Linked DNA regions of Homo sapiens: all the other regions are linked to region 1. The links are contacts of gene promoters, found by promoter capture Hi-C in blood cells and fetal thymus (Javierre and others, 2016). All regions are on one chromosome and are shown on one strand. Each heading gives the region's core, a stretch centred on a gene start or on the middle of the fragment in contact. The rest is flanking DNA. Distances are from core to core; before and after follow the strand shown.

Region 1 (2,700 bases), core at 188-2,687:
TCTACTGTGAGAACATCAACTCTTCTGTAGCTATTGATGTAGCCAAACTCCTGGAATGTAACTATATCTAACAGTGTTTCTCTGAGAAACTTTTACAGGATTGGAATGTGTGTAGTATCTAGTTAACCTGCTATTTTATTGCAAGTGATTTTTTCAAGTTATTAATTGAAATAGGAGTCTACCGTAAGTTGCTCTTAACTTGGGGAACTACTTTGAATGGCATTAATCTGGACCATTAATAACAATGTATACTTGGGGATTGTGTGTGTGTGTGTGTATACATGTGTGTGCATATATGTGTGTACACACACGTGCACACACACGTGCGCGCACACGTGCACACACACACGTGCACACACACACGTGTACACACACACGTGTACACACACACGTGTGTTACTGTACGTGGAGACTGTACATCTTAGGTCACACACCACCCCTGAACCAATCCTACAAACACCATAGGTGATACACACTGTCAAAGACAAAGAGTAGATGTCCACAATAGCTGTTCTTTCTCGTTTATAACACTTCTTTTACCTAGTAATAATCAGCTACCATTTACTCGATACATACTGTGTGCTGCCTCTTCAACCTTTTGACCATTTAAACTACAGGAAACTAGGTTATCTTCAGGTTACCTTAGTTATGGGAGTGTATGGAAAACATTAATGGGAAGGTGAAAGCGCAGCAAACCACTTCAGCAGTTAACAGAAAGGCTCTCAGAGCACTGGACCGCCAATCAGGACACAGCAGCAGCTCTGGGATTCGACCACAGATTCTCTGGCGTGCCCTTCGGGAAAGGGTGGCCTCGGGCCCCCTACTCTACAGAGTCTCCTCCCACGGCTGCCCAGTTCCCTGGCCGACTATCTTGCCTCCACCACATCACCATCAGTACCGGGCGGCTGCAGGGCAGAGCTGTCCAGGGACCTCCTCACAGCCTCCAGAGTCAAGAAATGCCTCCTCAGGGAAGCCCTCTACCGCATCCCTGACCTGTGAGTCACGGAGCTCCCGGGCACCATGCTGGCCACAAATGCCTAAGGAGCCCCCCGGAACCAGCTGTGGGTCCCGCAGGCACTCGCAGGCTAGCGGACACCTTTGGAGGACTGAGAGACCTGTCCTGCAATCCAATGTTCCTCACTCTCACAAGATTTTACAGACGTGGAAACCGAGGCCCGAGGCCCCAAGGGGTAATCGGCCCGCCTTCCCATGCCAATAACCGGCAGTGGCGGGACCCACACCTACTCCGTGACCTGCAGGCCCAGGGGTCGAGCCCCAGGTAGAACGTCTAGACGGACTCCGCCCTTAGCGCCGTACGGGGAACCTTCTCCCGGACGCAGACACGGAAGCGGAAGTGCTGCCGAGCTGTAGCTATGGAGACGTGGGGGGCGGGCCGCCCGGAGAGCGCGACCTTTGACCTGCAGTAGAGCCTACGTCAGAGGCTGGCGCAAACAGAAGTGCAGCGGTGGCGGCGGCTGGTTGCGGGCCGGCGGCGGGCTGGCGGAGATGGAGGTAACTCAGGTCGGGCCCACTGCCTCCCATCAAGCCTTCCGCGCCGCGATTTGGGATGTGGGAGTGGGCCCGATGGGAGGGCGCGGTAGTCTCCCTCTTGGTGTCCCGAAGCCCGCGCTGCTGTCGCCTCCCCATCTTTCGTAAACTCTATCCCTGGGGGTTACCTGCCCCGTAGAGCCCGTTTGTGTACGAATTGCCACAGCGACCGCCTCCGTCCGCCCTCATTCTCTGTCTCACGAGGCTTTCCACCACTTGATTCCATAGAAGGTTTTTCCCTGTAAGGGTTCTACGCGTTCCGTGTGGAATTAGGAAAAGAGTTCTTCTGACACCTGGGTTTGATTTTGTTTTGCAGGATCTTGTTCAAGATGGGGTGGCTTCACCAGCTACCCCTGGGACCGGGAAATCTAAGGTGAAGAGAATACTTGAATAGCGGGCTTCCTGAAGAGTGGAAGGGTGATGAATTGGAAAACTTTGGCATGGGGAAGGGGGGGGCGCTGATTTTTTTTTTTTTAATAGCCTTGCTCCAAGGGATCTCAATTTTAGTGTGCGCAATCGCCCATTTCCTGTTTCTCCCCCGCCCACCCCGATATAGAAAGACTTTTTGTTTGCTTCCTGCTCCTGGTTAGCACTGCTGGGAGATCCTGCTATTTTTCGAACATAAAGCAGTCTAAGAAGGTTTATATAGTGGTGTAGTGGAAGGAGCAGTGACATAGGGTAGGAATCAAGGGATTCTGATCTGTGGGCTCCAGTTTCTACATTGCCAAAGAGTTTAATTAGTCCAGTTTTATGGCCCTGTACAATGTTTAACATTCAATCATTCTAAATGATAGTGGTTTATTGCTAAGGTTTATTGTGTGCATGCTAAATTTCTGGCGCTTGCCTAACCACTCAGTTCCTTCGTTTAAGCTTCATGATAACCATGAGATAGGTACTGTTGTTACCCTCCTTTTACAGATGAGAAACCTGAGACCACAGGCTTAAGCAATTTTCTCAAGTGGTAAAGCTCAATTTTTTAATTAAAGCCTGAATGTTACCCGGTTCATCTTGCTGCTGTAATTATGCGTAAATTTTCTTGTGACCAAAGACTTGCAGCCTTGAATAGAATGAAATAATTTTACAGCTCCAAGGAATTTTAAGTAGCATTAGCTCCAACCTACTGATTTTACAATTAAATCAAAAGCTAGCAAT
Region 2 (2,730 bases), core at 74-2,573, 240 kb before region 1:
AACCACTACTCTCTTCAAAGCTGTCAGACAGGGACATTTAAGTCTGCAGAGATTTCTGCTTCCTTTTGTTTGGCTATTTCCTGCCCCCAGAGGTGGAGTCTACAGAGGCAGGCAGGCCTCCCTGAGCTGCAGTGGGCTCCATCCAGTTTGAGCTTCCCGGCCACTTTGTTTACCTACTCAAGCCTTGGCAATGGCAGGCACCCCTCCCCCAGCCTCGCTGCCACCTTGCAGTTTGATCTCAGACTGCTGTGCTAGCAATGAGCAAGGCTCCGTGGGTGTAAGACCCTCTGAGCCAGGTGCGGGATATAATCTCCTGGTGTGCCATTTGCTAAGACCGTTGGAAAGCGCAGTATTAGGGTGGGAGTGACCCAATTTTCCAGGTGCCATCTGTCACCCCTTTCTTTGACTAGGAAAGGGAATTCCCTGACCCCTTGTGCTGCCCAGGTGAGGCAATGCCTCACCCTGCTTTGGCTCACGCTCGGTGCACTGCACCCACTGTCTGACACTCCCCAGTGAGATGAACCCGGTACCTCAGTTGGAAATGCAGAAATCACTCGTCTTCTGCGTCACTCATGCTGGGAGCTGTAGATTGGAGCTATTCCTATTCGACCATCTTGGCTCCACCCCCAATTTCATGTTTTTAAAGGCTACATAGTACTCTATTGTGTATACACACCAAATATTTGTATACATTCACCCACAGATAGGCACTACAGTTGTTTCCATATTGTGGCTCTTGTGACTAATGCTGCAATCAATATGGGAGTGTAGCTATCTCTTCAACGCACTGATTTCATTTCTTTGGATGTATACCCAGTAGTGGCAGAGCTGTGAAACCCACCCAATAGTCCCATAGGCAACTTTTTGAATAAATATAGAAATTGACCTTTCTGGTCTTAAAGCTTGAAACTTACATTCATTTTTTCTGCATTCCTTCCCCAGGAAATGACCATCAGGCCTCTAAACAAAAGTATCAAAGAATTGAAACTCATCCATCACCACATCCAGACAATGCAGTGCAGGCTTCCTTATTCATCATGATTGTTTTCTTGCCCCTCTCTAGTTCCTGTTTTCTTACATATTGTTACATGTGTTCCCTGCTCTATAACCCCCTCATTGTAGTTGGTCAGGGAAATTGATTTGAGACTGATATCCCACCTCCTTGGTTGCAGCACCCCGTTAAATCCTTCTTCCTTCTTCCTGGCACTACTCATTGTCCTAATCATTGGCTTTCTTTGTGGTGAGCTGCAGGACCTACACTGGACCCCTGGCCTTTTGGTTATCTGTGGATCATTAGTGATTGTATTTTTAGTTTTTTGAAGAGGCTTCATATTGTTTTCCAAAGTGGCTGTACTAATTTACAATGCCACTGATGTTGTACAAGGGTTCTCTTTTTTCTATACCTTCCCCACACTTGTTATTTGTTGTCTTTTTGATAAGAGATGATCTAACATGTGTGAGATGATATTTTATTGTGGATTTAATTTGCATTTCTCTGATGATTGGAGAGGTTCAGCACTTTTTCCTATATCTGTAGTCCATTTCTATGTATTCTTTTGAGAAATTACTATTTAGAACCTTTGTCCATTTTTAATTAGGGTTATTTCTTTTTTTTGTTATTCAGTTGTATGAGTTCCTTGTGTATTTTAAATATTAGCCTCTAATCCAATCTATGATTTGCAAATGTTTTCTCCCAGGTTGTGGGTTGTCTTTTCATTCTGTTAATTGTTTCCTTTGATGTTTAGAAAGCTTTCAGATCAATGCAGTGACATTTGTCTGTTTTTGTCCATCACAGTGATTTCACATAGCTCCAGACTTATGCCATGGAGCTTTACCACTATGTTTATGTTCTCCTCTAGTAGTTTTACAGTTTCAGCTCATATATTTTAAGTCTTTAGCCCATTTTGAGTTGATTCCTGTATAAGGGGTAAGAAAATCGTTTACTTTTATTCTTCTGCATGTGGATATCCAATTTTCCCAACACCATTTATTGAAGAGACTGTTCTTTTCCCATTGTGTGTTACTGGCACTTTTTTCAAAAATTAATAGACTGTAATTGTGGGTGTTTATTTCTGAACTCTCTATCCTAGTTCATTGGATGATGTATCTGTTTTATGCCAGCACCATGCTGTTTTGACGACTATAGCTTTGTAAAGTGTTTTGGAATCTGGTGGTGTGATGCCTCTAGCTTTGTTCTTTTTGCTCAAGATGGCTTTGGCGTGGCCTTTTGTGGTTTCATGTGAATTTTATAACTTCTCTTTCTATTTCTGTGAAGAATGACCTTGAGACTTTGATTGAGATTGCATAGAGTCTATGAATGGCTTTGGGTAGTACAGATATTTTAAAAATATTCTTTCAATACATTAACACAGAAAATCTTTCAGTTTATTTGTGTCATCTTCAATTTCTTTCATCAATGTTTTACCATTTTCAGTATATAGATCTTTCACATTCTTGGTTAAATTTATTCCTAAGTATTTTATTTTATATTTGGTGCTATTGTAAATTGGTTTATTTTTTTATTTTTTAAAAAGATAGTTCATTGTTAGTGTGCAGAAATGCAACTGGTTTTTGTAAGGTGAATTTGTTTTCTGCAACTTCACTGAATTTCTTTGGCAATTCTAAGAGATTTTGGGAGGAGTCTTTAGAATTTTCTCTATATAAGATCATATCATTAGCAAACAGAACATCTCACTTCCTCCTTTTCTATTTGCATGACTTTCTTTGTTT
Region 3 (2,700 bases), core at 3-2,502, 220 kb before region 1:
TTTCTTTGAGATTGCCTTTGATCAAAAGGAGGTATGGGGGTGACTGTAGGGATAAATGTTGTCTTTTAATAGAAGACTCTAACAAATTTGCATTCATTTCCTAGGGATGCTGTAACAAGTACTACAAAGTGAGTGGCTTAAATTTATTCCCTGGCAGCTCTGAGGGCTAGAAATCTGGAATTGTGTCAGCAGGTCTGTGGTCCCCCTGAGACTTAGGAAGAATGTTTCAGCACCTCTTCTAGCTTCACATGGTGGTCAGTAACCCTTGGCTAGTTTGACTTGTGAGACGTATCACTCTCATCTCCACCCATCATCATAGGGCCTTCTGCCCTGTGTGTGTGTGTATGTGTGTGTGTGTATGTGTGTGTGTACCCTGTTTGACCTTCTGTGCATTTGTGTCCAAATATCCTCTTATTTTAAGGACACTAATCATTGAATTATGGCCCATTCTAATTCATATGGTCCCATTTAACTTGATTACATCCCGCAAAGACCCAATTGTAAACTAAATCATGTCCCCCCACCAAATTCATACTTTGAAGCTCTAAATACCAGTGGAGCTACATTTGGAGGAAGAAAGTGATTAAGGGTAAAAGGGGTCATAACATTGGCCCTTGGTCTAATGGGATTAGTGCCCATCTAAGAAAAGACACTAGAGAGCCTGTGCTCTCTCTTCACAAGCACACACCAAGGAAAGGCCACGTGAGGACACAGCACGAAGGTGAACATCTGTAAGCCAGGAGAAAAGCCCTCACGAGGATTAACAAAACACTGATGATTTCGGGTTTCCTAACTTGGACTTGGATTCAAATTTTCCTTCTTTTCAAACATCGATGAATATCAGCTTAGAATTGTGTTCTTATTAGCGTTCCTTCAGGCAAAAGGGAACCTGCTAACTAGTCAGTTCCAATAACTGATGCAAGATCATCTTCTGACCATAGCAAACCTATCAAGCTTGCTGCTTTCTCTGACTCAGTGGGGCATAGACCTCCTAATTACTGAATAAATATTGCTCAGGTTTTTTTTTTAGGTCTGTGAGATAAGTTTGCAGAATCAATAAAACATTGTCACAAAGTAGGTATCTTCATTATGCTATCAGCTTGGGGATATAGATGATCTTTGGGCTGCCCTCTTCCCTTTTATCATCTCCTTATCCATACTGCTTTTTGAACTTTCTGAACTCCTTAGCAGGTAGGCACAGTACCTTTAATGTGGCTTGGACTTCCCTTCCTCAAGAACTATAAGAAGCACATTTCTGTTGTTTGAACACACCAGAATATTGTATTTTAGTGCAGACTAATACAGACACTACTTCTAAATAGGATGATGTTTACAGTCACCAGAGGTTAGGATTTGAACATGTCTCTTGGGGCACACAATTCAACCCACAACATCCTTCAGGGATATCAGATTCTGATCATATTCATTATCTTTATGCTACTTTGAATATGTTTAAAAACTGTAATAATTGATGGATAAGCAAACTGTCTTGATTTCTCCCACTGTGAAAACAAAAGACAGTGTTATTTCCTGTCACCTTGTACACACTGTCAAGCTTCACCAAGTTTTCAGGACTTCCAGTTTCCTTCAATATCTGTTTCCGACCCTCCAGACCAATATTTTAATTTTTCTCTCTCACTTCTGACTCAGCATTACTGAGAACCACAGCTTGACTGCACAGATCTCTATCAAGGCTCTAGGATACCCCGAAGCTGGCCTTTTCCCCAGGATCTGAAGAAGTCCCAAGATTTGAAGCCTGACAACTTACTGAACCTGGAAAAACTGAAAACCACTTAAGACTGCTGGATTCACCCACAGACAATCCACTGTGTGAGCTCCTAGGACTGTCTGGTGAAACACTTGCTTTTTTAAAAAAAAGGAAACCATACTGTGGACAACATCCCCCAGAGCATTGACTCTTCACGTCAAGAAACTCAACAAGCAATGTGTATAATCCAGAGATTTCCATCCAAAGACCTCCTGGGATCTGATAGACTGGATACCCTTGGGGTTCAACTCTTGGCTGTTTAATACAACATTTTATGCTATATTTATGTTTTTCACTTTAGGCATTCCACTTTTAAAATGCCTCATCTTAGGGACATAAAACAGCTCACCATTGCTAGCGTGCTCAACAGACGTTTCCACTGGTTTTCCAGGGACAATGCTCAGGAAACTCTGGCCCTGAAGACTATTGCACTCAGCCATCTACAACTTCTAATTTCCCTTATCCCTGAGTTGCTCAGGGACAGTTTATCTGAGCCTGTATTAAAACAGAGGAGAGACTGACAAAGCTGATCAAACTACATTTGACATAACTTGAGGCTGGATATACTGTGATGGCTGGCCCTCAGTTTTATATGAACTTCCCTCATTATAACTTTTTTTGCTCTATCTCAGGGACAAACCTCTGCCCATGTACTTAAATGAAAATGAACATTCCCTACCTTCCTGTTATTGCAACATTTGACACAGTTCCTTAAGTATCAAGACCGCTCAGCATTTTTTAGTTTTTCTCTTCCCACAGTCATCGATCTCATGTCTTTGCATGTAAAAGCTTTGCTTGACCACCTATTCCAAGAAATGTTCTGGCATGGACCCTGAGCATTTCTCTGTTGCACCAACTGCTCTTAATAAAGTATTTTCTTTATTAAGAAAATCCGGAGATGTGTCTGTGCTTCCTTGACAGTAAATACAACT
Region 4 (2,700 bases), core at 23-2,522, 190 kb before region 1:
TCACCCTGCCTGTTTGCAGACAGCCAATGTCAGTGGTTCTGAAACTTGAGTCACATTAGAACCCCTGCAGGCCTTGCTAAAGCTCTGATTGCTGGTCCCCACTCAGAGATACTGATTCCACAGATCCAGCAGTAGCCCTCAAATTTGCTTTTCTCTCAAGTACTCAGGTGATGCTGATGGTGCTGGTCACTTTGATTACAATACCCACCTCAACCATGAACTTCCCTTTGAAGGCTTGTGCATCCTCTGAGCAGCTTTGAACACTCATCTTTAGTCTATCCCTGTAGTTCAAAACCCTAGCTAAGCACTTAGTACTTGGATTTGTAACTACTGATATTCATGTCTGTCTCCAAAATAAGATGATAGGCTGTCCTGAAGAGAGTGTAGTGTTCAGTTTTGTTCCACTAGAACCTAGTATAGAGACTCATACCTCAAAACAACTCAGTAATGGCCTGTTGTGTGAGTGTACAGATGAATGAACATTATTTCTGTCCTCAACAAGTTAACATTCTAGATACATGCAAAAATAGCTGCAAAAAGTTATAAACAAGAAAGTAAAGTGGAAGCTATACTAGGAATTCCCTAATACCAGTTCTCCTGGCTGTATCAAAATTACCTTTAAAAACAGTGACCCCATTCCAGAACATTCCAATTAACTAGTTGCAAGCTGGAATCTAGAATTTGATATTATGGGCAAGCATTTCAGATTAATCCTCTTGTCAAAGGGTAGGAAACCAGTAGAAATAAAGTACTAGGATAACTTAGAGAAACAATTCATTAGTACAGCATTTGTTGGGCTGACAAGGTACAACAGTTTGCAGAAGATCCCTAGTATCCAAATGTCATTTCCAGTGGATTTACTATTTAATTTTACCCAACAAGTAATATCTTCTACAATGAGGTTACTGACATCTTGTAACGTCTTTCACTGTCCCTGGGAGAATAAGATAGGCTGTCCCCCAGGAAGTCCATGATGGTAACCAGCTGTAGACTTTGGGTTGGGTACACTAGAGCCAGGAGTGTACCCTGGAGCAGAAGATTCAGCACAGTGGGGCACCTCAGTGGGGCCTGCAGCATTTGAGGAAGGAGTATAAGGATGCTGTGTGCCTTGTGGTAAGAAAGCCAAGTGGAGTGGAAATGAGGGACCATTCATAGTGGAAAGACCAGAGGGAGTGGGACTGAGGGACCCTCACTCATGGGAAAATCACGTGGGTAGGCCTAGGAACCATTCACTATAGAAAGGTTAGGTGGAATGGGTGCAGAGTCTGTCATGAACTTCTTTGATGTCCTACAGGGATGCCTGGAGACTGGAAGAACCACTTTACTGTGGCTTTGAATGAGAACTTTGATAAGCATTATGAAAAGAAGATGGCAGGGTCCACACTGAACTTCTGCCTGGAGATCTGAGAGGAACAACAACAAACTAGGTGACAGAGACTATGCCAACTATTTCGCCTTTTATTCTGTTGAGCAAGGAACTGTGACTGAATGTGGAGCTTATGAGCTTCAGTCCATCTCCTATAGTGTGGCTAGTTTGCTATAATATTAAAACATGATTTAAAATATCAACAAACCAGTTACTCCAGTAAATAAAATAAGAGAATTAGAGAGCAGAGTCCGCCTACATGAGTTTTTTTGTTTGTTTGTTTTTTAAGTACAGGTATGTTTTATTGTGCATGACAGACAGAGCAAAAACAAACAATTGCATCATGGATTCCCATGTGTGATCCCAAGTAGATTTCACAAGAAAATTATGCATAGGTATTACAAGCCCCATTGTTAAGAGAGAATGTAACAGCTTGAAGTGTACATTCTATACTTTTATGTATAAATAATAACTTCCAAGAGAAAAGAGCTGATAAGTACATTTCAGAGTCACCATTTCTGTAATAGAATGATATAAAAATAAATTACTACTGCAAAATATCAATCAATTGCAAAATGATTACTGCTCTACTTTTGGCTTGTAACTAATTTTCTCAATCGAAAGAGTTTGAGTTGGAGAAATTAGTCAGTGAGTACTCCTGTAAAAAATCTTCCCACGATATAAATAAAATGCTTAATGTATCTAATCTATAAATTGAGATCTGGGACAAATGCACCATGACTATGCATTGCCATTCTCTTAATAACTATGCATTGCCATTCTCTTAATAAAGAGTCTCTGTTGCATCACTCTAACAATAGGTATGACCTCAGATTTAATATAAATTTAGTGCTTCAACCATGCACCAGTGAAGACCTGGTTTTTTATATGACCAAGTACAATTGTCTTATTAGAAGAGAAGGTCCTGAGGGGCCTTAGGGAGTAGGTGGATGCCAACAGGGCTGATGGCCTCAGAGATGACAGCATGTAACATGTAAGAAAGGGGGGAAATTTGGAAAGACTTAAACTCAGAAATAAAATTAAAGAAGTGTAAAAAGGTATTCAATTAACATCTTGAAAGGGAATCAGGAACAATATACATAGCTCCCAGTACACAGAGCAAAGTAACCTCCCTGTGGTTGTGATCATTGTCTCTACCTTATCGTAGTGACAAGGCAGTGCTATTGTTACGCCAGGCAAAGGGGAAATGACATCCTATTCTCTAGTCAACTGGATGGAAGACAAACTCAAAGGTAAAAAATAGATGATGAGATTTTAAGAAAAGAGAGCAGCTGGTCCCTAAGGCCTGCTGTAAGGAAGCAGAGAGGATGAAG
Region 5 (2,700 bases), core at 154-2,653, 240 kb after region 1:
TTCTTTGGATGATATTCAAAGCCTTATTAGCACTGCACCTGAATAATAGGTCATTTTGCCTCACTCATTTGCCAAAGTAGCCATTTCTAAGTTAAGGAAGTTTTTAGATAGGCTCATAGCCTTGTATTTCGTTTTAGATTGTAAGCTCAATGGCAGGGATACTATATTGGTAATTATGTTTTCATATAGCAACCACCACAGTATATTCTTGGTGCTTAATAAATGTTTATAATTGTTAACAATAACCTGTTGTATATTGTTTATTTTGAATGGTATATATGTGAAATACATATGAAAATTGAAGTATTCATGAATATATAATAGAAACAAGTAAATGAATAAAATGACCTGGTTACTATAGATAAGCCAAATTTTGAACCATCTAGAACAATGGTGTAGTCTTCCCTCTACTCAATGTAAATGCTGGGTTTTTTAATTATTATTATTATTAAGAAGGAGATACAGTCCAGGCACAGTGGCTCACACCTGTAATCCCAGCACTTTGGGAGGCCGAGGCCAGTGGATCACTTGAGGTCAGGAGTTTGAGACCAGCCTGGCCAACACAGTGAAACCTCATCTCTATTAAAAATACAAAAATTAATAGGGCGTGGTGGTGTGCACCTGTAGTCCCAGCTACTTGGGAGGCTGAGGCAGTAGAATCACTTGAATCCAGGGGGCAGAGGTTGCAGTGCAATGGTGTGCTGGGATTACAGGCAATGAGCCACTGTGCCCTGCCCTCAGCTGGAGTGCAATGGTGCAATTAAGTTCTTTCTTTTTCAACTCAAAATTTGTCTGCATCTTTACCCAAATATCCAGATCTGATACTCTAGGCTTGGGCTAATATAGTGGGGTGGAGGAGGCTTGGGTTAAGGTTTAAAGTTCCAAGGGCTGAACCGGAATAAATGGTGTATTTATCAAGGGAAGAGCAAGGCAAAACCAGCAAGTCCAAACCATGGAGGCCTCAACCGAGGTGAGGGGAAAAGTTAGGGAGCCTTAGGAAAGCTCTGAGGAGGGACCCCAATTAGGGGGACCGTAGTTAGGGTATGAGGTTTGTGAGATCAGGACTGGAATTGCTGCAAGAGACCCTATGATTGGGTGGCAGCAGCACGTTGTGGAGATGAGCCTGCTTCCTCAGCCTCTTCCTCTTGTCAGAACCCTTTGCCTCTCCCTACACACGCACACACACATGCATGCACCATGCTACAGAAACCTTTCTCAGTCTTGCCATTCTCTCAAATTATGCTTTGGTCTTCCCTTCATCTTCAGATTCTTTAAAGAGAATCAAAGTTCCCACTTCTAGCATGATGAAGTGAGGAGGTCAACAAATCTTTCCAAAATGTAACTGTATAGCTGGACAAACCATTTAGCATTCTGTAATTTTACCAAAGGCACCGCACAAATGGGGATGTGTTTAAGAATGAAAGCTGGCCAGGCGCGGTGGCTCACGCCTGTAATCCCAGCACTTTGGGAGGCTGAAGCAGAAGGACCACTTGAGCTCAGGAGTTCAAAAACAGCCTGGGCAACTTGGTGAGACCCCCGTCTGTACAAAAAAAAAATCAAAAAAGGCATGGTGGTGCACACTTGTGGTCCCAGCTACATGGGAGGCTAAGGCGGGAGAATCATTTGAGCCCAGGAGATTGAGGCTGCAGTGAGCTGTGATCACACCACTGCACTCCAACCTGGGCAACAGAGTGAGACAGACCCTGTCCCTAAAGAAAAAAAAGAAGAATTAAAGTGAGCCTTGGATAAGACCAGCCTGTGTCTGTGGCATCTTTGCCCAGGCTGCTACCCCCATTTACCCCAGCTGTTGATAACACACACAGCGGCCCCCAGCAGGGCAGCCTGTGGAGATAAGCTCCCCTGCCACCTCGTTGCAGGGGCTGGAGGCAAGAGTGAGGAAGGTTTTGATTTGCAGCATGGCTAGTTAAGGTGGTGATATCAGTGACCAGGAGGAAGAAAGGCCACTGACTCCTAGCCTGAGGCTCTGGGCCTTTGGAGACGAGCAAATGACCTGCAGATTAGTCATGGATGTAAGAGGGAGCTCCGGGAGGTCGGAGAGCCAGAGGGAGCTTAGTAAACTCTTCACACTACCCAAATGGACTGAAGGCTCATAGCTGGCAGAGATTAGAGCAAGCCCAAGCCATGTCCATATGCCCAGGGCACACAGCCTGTGTGTGTGCCGGTGCCAGTGTTAGGAAGTAAAAGCCGGAACACCCTTGCAAATGGCCCGGGGCGTGCCTCCTCCCCATTGCACATAGATCCAGCAGCAGATGGTGGAAACCATATTGGCTTTAACTGATGTTTGACAAACTATGCAAACAAGAAGCGACCTCTAAGAAGCCATTCTGAAAAATTAAAGCAAACAAATGCCAACAATAAAACTGAACAATGACCTGAGTGAGTGCACACTGTGGAGGAGACAGGCTTCCTGCATGGAGTCCAGCCAGGAGACAGTACAGAATGCATGGAGCAGCTATTGGAAGACAGTGAAAACTAAATAGTTGCAGGCAGCTTTCCCAAGAAGACCAGAACTTGAAGTACCACCAAACCAGTGGTGAGATAACCATGTTTCCCCTACGGCATCCCGTGACTAACCTGGCAGTGGGCACCAGGGTGCAGATAGAAAGAGCTCCAGAAGATGCCCTCTATTTCTGGCTCAAGTAACGGGAAAAGGGTCTCCTAACATTCCGAGGGAATCCA
Region 6 (2,700 bases), core at 67-2,566, 190 kb after region 1:
TGTTTCACCCAGTGCTGGAAATGTTGATCATCACTTTTAAAGATAATTCTAAAGTCACCTTGCAACAACCCTGCATTTATTTAAGATCATATATCATATATGTGTACATGTTTTTGTTTTGTTTTTTTGAGACTAAGTCTCGCTCTATCGCCCAGGCTGGAGCGCAGTTGCGCCATCTCAGCTCATTGCAACCTCCACCTCCCGGGTTCAAGTGATTCTCCTGCTTCAGCCTCCTGAGTAGCTGGGATTACAGGCACCTGCCACCACACCCGGCTAATTTTTGTATTTTTAGTAGAGACAGGGTTTCACCATGTTGGTCAGGCTGATCTTGAACTCCTAACCTCATGATTCACCCACTTTGGCCTCCCAAAGTGCTGGGATTACAGACGTGAGTCACCGTGCCCAGCCGTGTACATGTATTTTAAAAAGAATAGAGCTCAAAATGTTAAAGTACTTGTTTCCAGTTGGCAGGAATATGCGTGATTCTTCTCTGCCTTTCATACATTTTCTGCAATAAGCTATATTGCTGTTGGGCTGATAAAAGTTGACAAATTCAACTTACCAAACCAAAACAGTACAGTTCAGTGATCCCATCCCAAAGCACTTACACATCCATGCGCACGGGCTCACAGAAACTGAGGCTTGCCATTGTTCAGTCATTTGTTAGTGTTCTGCTTTTAATGATTGCACCTTTTTGCTGCCCATTCTGTTTTCCCATCCAGTCTCGTGTCTTTCCATGATGGGTTTCCTGTGTGATGGGAGTGTCTCCATTATCATAGGGACAGGATGGCTTGTTGCAGGGAGTAAGAGCGTCACAAGAGTGTCTGAGGCACTCAGGGAGTGTCATGGAGAAAGGAGAGAGTGCTGGGAGGAGCTTGATTTCAGTCTTTCTCCTTTCCCTTCCCCAGGCTCCATGTCCTTTACAAAGTCCTTTGTGGGTAGATATTTGTTGGTTGGTTCATGTTAGCAACTTTTCTAGAGATCATCCAGGGAGAGGTGCTTCTTAAGAAACAAGCCACCACATAGGTCGTCAAGACTTAAAACTGGTTAGGATTGAGTAACTGACCTATTTATTTGCAGTACTTTCTGCCTGTTGTGGGCAGTGTCTCTGAGGCCACACAGTGCTTTCAGACCTGCCTTGTGTTGCAGAACCCCATGGACACTGAGGTTGAGCGTGGGGCCATTCCTGCCTTCTCTGGGCTGTCCCTCAGTACACCTCTGCCTGGGGCTCCTGAGTGGCCACTCTCTTTTGCCTGTGGGCTTTGGGAATAAAACTAGGATAGTTTTCCCTCAGATACTAGAGGAGGAATTTTTTATTGATACATAATAATTGTACATATTTATGGGGTGCATGTGTTATTTTGCTGCATGCATGTAATGCATAAGGATCAAATCGGGGTAACTAGCATATCCATCACTTCAAACATTTATCATTTCCTTGAGTTTAGAACTTTCACAATCCTCTTCTAGCTTTTTGAACATGCGCAATAAATTATTGTTAACATTAGTCACCCTACAGTGCTGAGGAACCCAAGAACTATTCCTGTTACTCAGCTGTAATGTTGAGTCCCTTAACCTCTCCCTCTCTCCCCTCCCAGCCACCCTTCCCACCCTCTAATAACCAACTCTGCGTTCTAATTCTGTGAGTTCAATTGTATTTTTGCTTTCACATATGAGTGAGAACATCTGGCATGTGTCTTTCTGTGCCTGACTTATTTCACTTAACATAATGTACCCCGGGCTCATCATGATGCCACCACTGACAGGATCTAATTCTTTTTTTGTGGCTGGATGATATTCCATCTGAAACGATGTATTTTAGATGATTTTAAGACTTAAATGGGTGCCTGCTAGTTTTCTTCCAGAAATATTTCAACCTGATATCATAATGGCATTTCACTCATTTTCCTTTTAAGGGAAATAAATACAGTTAAGATATCATAAAGTTTGGGATGCTAGAAACCTATCTGCAACACCGAAGAGAGTCTCTAACTCTTTAGATTAAGTTTCATTTCAGAGGGAGTTTCTTGAAGACAATTAGATGCAAATAGCCTTCTCACAATTACAACCTCATTGTAATTTCTGGACTTTGATTCCAGTGTTTGGGATGGTTTGGGCCCCTGGGATGGGGTTGATGGTGCATAGGGAGAGAATTTGTTTTGTTCATTTCATTATTGTTAGGTGATAATCTTTTAGTGACTCTTCAGTTATTTTTAGCATATGTAACAAAGCCACGGTAGCTCTGCCTTACTTTGATAATAATCCCAATAAGCAATGCTAATACAAACATGTAAAAAATGTGCTATTTTCTTTATTTTAAACTAGCTTGAGAAAATGTACATTATTTCTTTATCACTGTCTTGCTTCTGTGGTAATGAATAATTTCTTTTTGCCTGTGCATTCAAAAATTAGGAAAAAAAATTGACAAGGCAAAATGGCATATTAATTACAAATCCGTATCTTTTTCTGGCCAAACTTTGTCTGTTTTCTCACTGTCTGTTGAAAGAAAATCCAGTGCATTTGTTCTAGAAGCTACAAAATGGGAAGGAACTTCCCAGTTTCATTATCTTTACTTGCATGTCATGATTGTTTTGTTTTTAGTAGTCTGGGGGAAATTAGATTGTATTTTCCATTTGAGCAGGATAGAGGATGATAGTAGAAACAGTTCATTTTGGCATATGATAATTTCACCAGGCCACC
Region 7 (2,700 bases), core at 3-2,502, 210 kb before region 1:
AGGAGAATGGCATGAGCCTGGGAGGTGGAGCTTGGAGTGAGTAGAGATGGCGCCACTGCACTCCAGCCTGGGTGACAAAGTGAGACTCCATCTCAAAAAAAAAAAAAAAAAAATCACTGGAAAACCTGGTTAGTAAGCGATTTTAATTATATACCAGGTGTGGATCCTAGGACCCAGACAGAAACGCAAATAAAGTTTGACTTTTCAGTATCTAACTCCATGTGTCCCAGGCCTTACTTATCTGTAAAGCAGGCAATATACAACCTGGGAACATTTAGCAACCCTGGTATCTAAGTTATATGATTCAGACCACCTATTTGCATTTTGACGACACTTGTATTCTACCAATAATTCTTAAGAGTATTTTTAATTCTTAAAGCCATGTGAACTAAAAACGTATTTGATTTAAGCAATTATTTTTCTTTAAGCCAATCAATTAGAGCTCTTTTTGCAGACATTACACACAAAACATATATAGCAGCACAGACAGAAGATTCAGCACTTGTTAAGATTTTTCATTTGCCAGTTTTTTAATTGGATTACTGGCTTTAGGGTGGAGCCCTTGGAGGAGCAGGGTCAGGTACCATGCATTTTTTAGTGCCTAATAAGCAGACACAGCTGAAGGCAATTAGCCCATCCCCCCATAGAAGTCTTATTTTTTAGTGGAGGGTGGGGATGTTTTCATACCTTTCAGGTGGCCAAGAGCATGCTTCTCTGATTTATTACTACTCCTAGCCGTCCCTTACAGTGTATTTTCTACCTGGTTATTAAACAGCAAATCTCTCTCATAATGTGAAGTAATGTGAAACCCCCAAAACATAAACAGTATATAACACAATACATAACAGAACAGAGTCTTTGATTTTGAGAGGAAACTATCTACTTTTAATTTTGGGGGCTTCGTGGGAAAAACAGAGGGCTTTTTATTTTCCCAAAACAGGGTCTGTGGCACCTCCTCTGTTTTTCCCAAGGAGTCCCATGCTACCAGAAGTTATCTTTGGGCCTCTCATGCATGCATTAGGAGTGGTAAGACAAAAAATAGAGAAAAATAATTCAGTCGACTGAGAGGAAAAAAGGCTTTTTCCAGAAAAACTTTTAAATATACCTATAACTTGAATATCCATTTTTAATTAAGCTGAGCACTCTTTAAGAAAATCCTTTTAAATCCCTTTTTACTCGACTTTAGCCATGCCAAGCAGTTAAGATTTTTGACTTTTCAATTTTACAAAAAGTAACCTTACAGGTGAAACCAATGAGCCTTAATTAGGTTATGATTTAACCGTGAGTGTGCAAGGCATTTTCAAAGGAGGGTAAGCAGCTTTTGAAACTATCATTGCAAAATTGTAACTGAGACAGTGAAAGACATCTGACCCAAACAGCTCCATTTTGTTTCCAGCGCCCGAGCTGTCCTTGCCCATCCCTGGGGACAGGCTTCACCAACTTTGGGAGGAACCTGGTTTACAGTTTATACTTTAAAACAAAGATGGTAACAGCTCCTTCTTAAGATATGTTTCCAGGGCCGGGCGCGGTGGCTCACACCTGTAATCCCAGCACTTTAGGAGGCCGAGGCAGGTGGATCACGAGGTCAGGAGATCGAGACCACCCTGGCTAACACGGTGAAACCCTGTCTCTACTAAAAATACAAAAAATTAGCCGGGAGTGGTGGTGGGTGCCTGTAGTCCCAGCTACTTGGGAGGCTGAGGCAGGAGAACAGCGTGAACCTGGGAGGTGGAGCTTGCAGTGAGCTGAGATTGAGCCACTGCACTCCAGGCTGGGTGACAGAGCAAGACTCTATCTCAAAAAAAAAAAAAAAGATATACTTCCCTCTTGCCTGGGAACAAGACCAAAAAACTAGCCAGAAGTCTTGAAACCATCCCTTAGGAGTCATGCAGCAAGAGACTATGAGATTTTGACCCTCCCTAAACTGCTTTCAAGATCAGTGCTTAAGATATTTTGTAAACTCTACCCTTGATGAATCAGCTAGCACCACCCGATTGACAAACTGGCTTATATGATTTTTTGGCCCTTACTCAGGAACTGACTTAGCACAAGAAGACAGCCACCATTGTAAAAAGGCTGAGAGTAAAGTATATTATTGCCATGTAGTTACAGGTCATGTATCCAGACATGAAACAAGATGGAGGCCTGTGGCCAAGTTTGTTACTATTATGTTGGGCTGGCTTGAACCGCAGACTTGTGGGGTCCTGGGCCTGCATCCTAACCTAAGGTATCTTTTCTTTGACAGAACCATACAGAAAGACATGCAAAGCACACCAAATTGTCTACAGCTTAAGATCAACAAAAATCCTTTTTCATTAATTATAAATTCACAGAGAATATAAACAATGATCCTTATTATCCCCTTTACTGGCTCACACAGGGAGAGAGAAGCCAAAAGCCCAACTGGTAAGAAATTTTTACCCTTTTGCCAGCATATCACACTTCTGGGTTCCCTTCCCCCTAGCTCAACTCTAAGCCAAGCATTTTTAAGTTTGGAAAATTAACTTTTCCCAGGTTAAGGGGACATTATAAAAGAGATAGAACCATTATAAACCATAAAAGAAGAAAAAATACTACAGAAAGGAGTTCCAATTACAGTTGTTATGAGGTATCGCCTCTCTTCCTATTGGGAATGGTGTTTTGCCTATATTTTTGCCTTCCCTATTTTTTTCTTTTCCATTTTGGCACACTATAGGAGAC

What was found. The method cuts DNA at HindIII sites, captures the fragments that hold promoters and counts their contacts. A CHiCAGO score of 5 or more calls a contact.
Region 2: a fragment that was not itself captured here is called in contact with the fragment with the promoter of GCC2 in region 1 in 3 of 17 cell types (M0 macrophages, M1 macrophages and M2 macrophages); the score reaches 12.9 in M0 macrophages.
Region 3: a contact is called between a fragment that was not itself captured here and the fragment with the promoter of GCC2 in region 1, in 2 of 17 cell types (M0 macrophages and M1 macrophages). The highest score is 8.1, in M0 macrophages.
Region 4: a fragment that was not itself captured here is called in contact with the fragment with the promoter of GCC2 in region 1 in 3 of 17 cell types (M0 macrophages, M1 macrophages and M2 macrophages); the score reaches 6.1 in M0 macrophages.
Region 5: a fragment that was not itself captured here is called in contact with the fragment with the promoter of GCC2 in region 1 in 6 of 17 cell types (neutrophils, monocytes, M2 macrophages and 3 more); the score reaches 11.6 in neutrophils.
Region 6: a contact is called between a fragment that was not itself captured here and the fragment with the promoter of GCC2 in region 1, in 8 of 17 cell types (neutrophils, monocytes, total CD8 T cells and 5 more). The highest score is 14.1, in neutrophils.
Region 7: a contact is called between a fragment that was not itself captured here and the fragment with the promoter of GCC2 in region 1, in 1 of 17 cell types (M0 macrophages). The highest score is 5.4, in M0 macrophages.

What each region holds. Positions count from the first base shown.
Region 1 is chr2:108,447,769-108,450,468 of GRCh38, forward strand. GCC2 (GRIP and coiled-coil domain containing 2) reads left to right here and starts at 1,438. Exons shown (of 23, transcript NM_181453.4): 1 at 1,438-1,512; 2 at 1,865-1,921. The coding sequence starts at 1,507. RefSeq lists enhancers at 378-1,360, 1,265-1,524, 1,361-2,342, 2,428-2,700. The HindIII fragment of the contact is 5,578 bases long and covers 1-2,416 here.
Region 2 is chr2:108,208,640-108,211,369 of GRCh38, forward strand. The region is part of intron 1 of LINC01594 (long intergenic non-protein coding RNA 1594); the gene reads right to left. Among named protein-coding and RNA genes, the nearest start is that of LINC01594, 7.8 kb to the right of the region's middle. The HindIII fragment of the contact is 847 bases long and covers 901-1,747 here.
Region 3 is chr2:108,225,120-108,227,819 of GRCh38, forward strand. It overlaps the pseudogene SETD6P1. Among named protein-coding and RNA genes, the nearest start is that of LINC01594, 8.6 kb to the left of the region's middle. The HindIII fragment of the contact is 601 bases long and covers 953-1,553 here.
Region 4 is chr2:108,259,274-108,261,973 of GRCh38, forward strand. It overlaps SULT1C3 (sulfotransferase family 1C member 3), which reads left to right. Exons shown (of 8, transcript NM_001320878.2): 8 at 1,295-1,613. The coding sequence ends at 1,407. Among named protein-coding and RNA genes, the nearest start is that of SULT1C3, 21 kb to the left of the region's middle. The HindIII fragment of the contact is 3,799 bases long and covers 1-2,700 here.
Region 5 is chr2:108,687,002-108,689,701 of GRCh38, forward strand. It overlaps LIMS1 (LIM zinc finger domain containing 1), which reads left to right. Exons shown (of 10, transcript NM_001193483.3): 10 at 1-245. Among named protein-coding and RNA genes, the nearest start is that of LIMS1-AS1, 9.8 kb to the left of the region's middle. The HindIII fragment of the contact is 7,259 bases long and covers 1-2,700 here.
Region 6 is chr2:108,639,343-108,642,042 of GRCh38, forward strand. The region is part of intron 1 of LIMS1 (LIM zinc finger domain containing 1); the gene reads left to right. Among named protein-coding and RNA genes, the nearest start is that of LIMS1-AS1, 38 kb to the right of the region's middle. The HindIII fragment of the contact is 2,875 bases long and covers 1-2,700 here.
Region 7 is chr2:108,241,833-108,244,532 of GRCh38, forward strand. All of the region lies in intron 1 of SULT1C3 (sulfotransferase family 1C member 3), which reads left to right. Among named protein-coding and RNA genes, the nearest start is that of SULT1C3, 3.2 kb to the left of the region's middle. The HindIII fragment of the contact is 3,149 bases long and covers 1-2,700 here.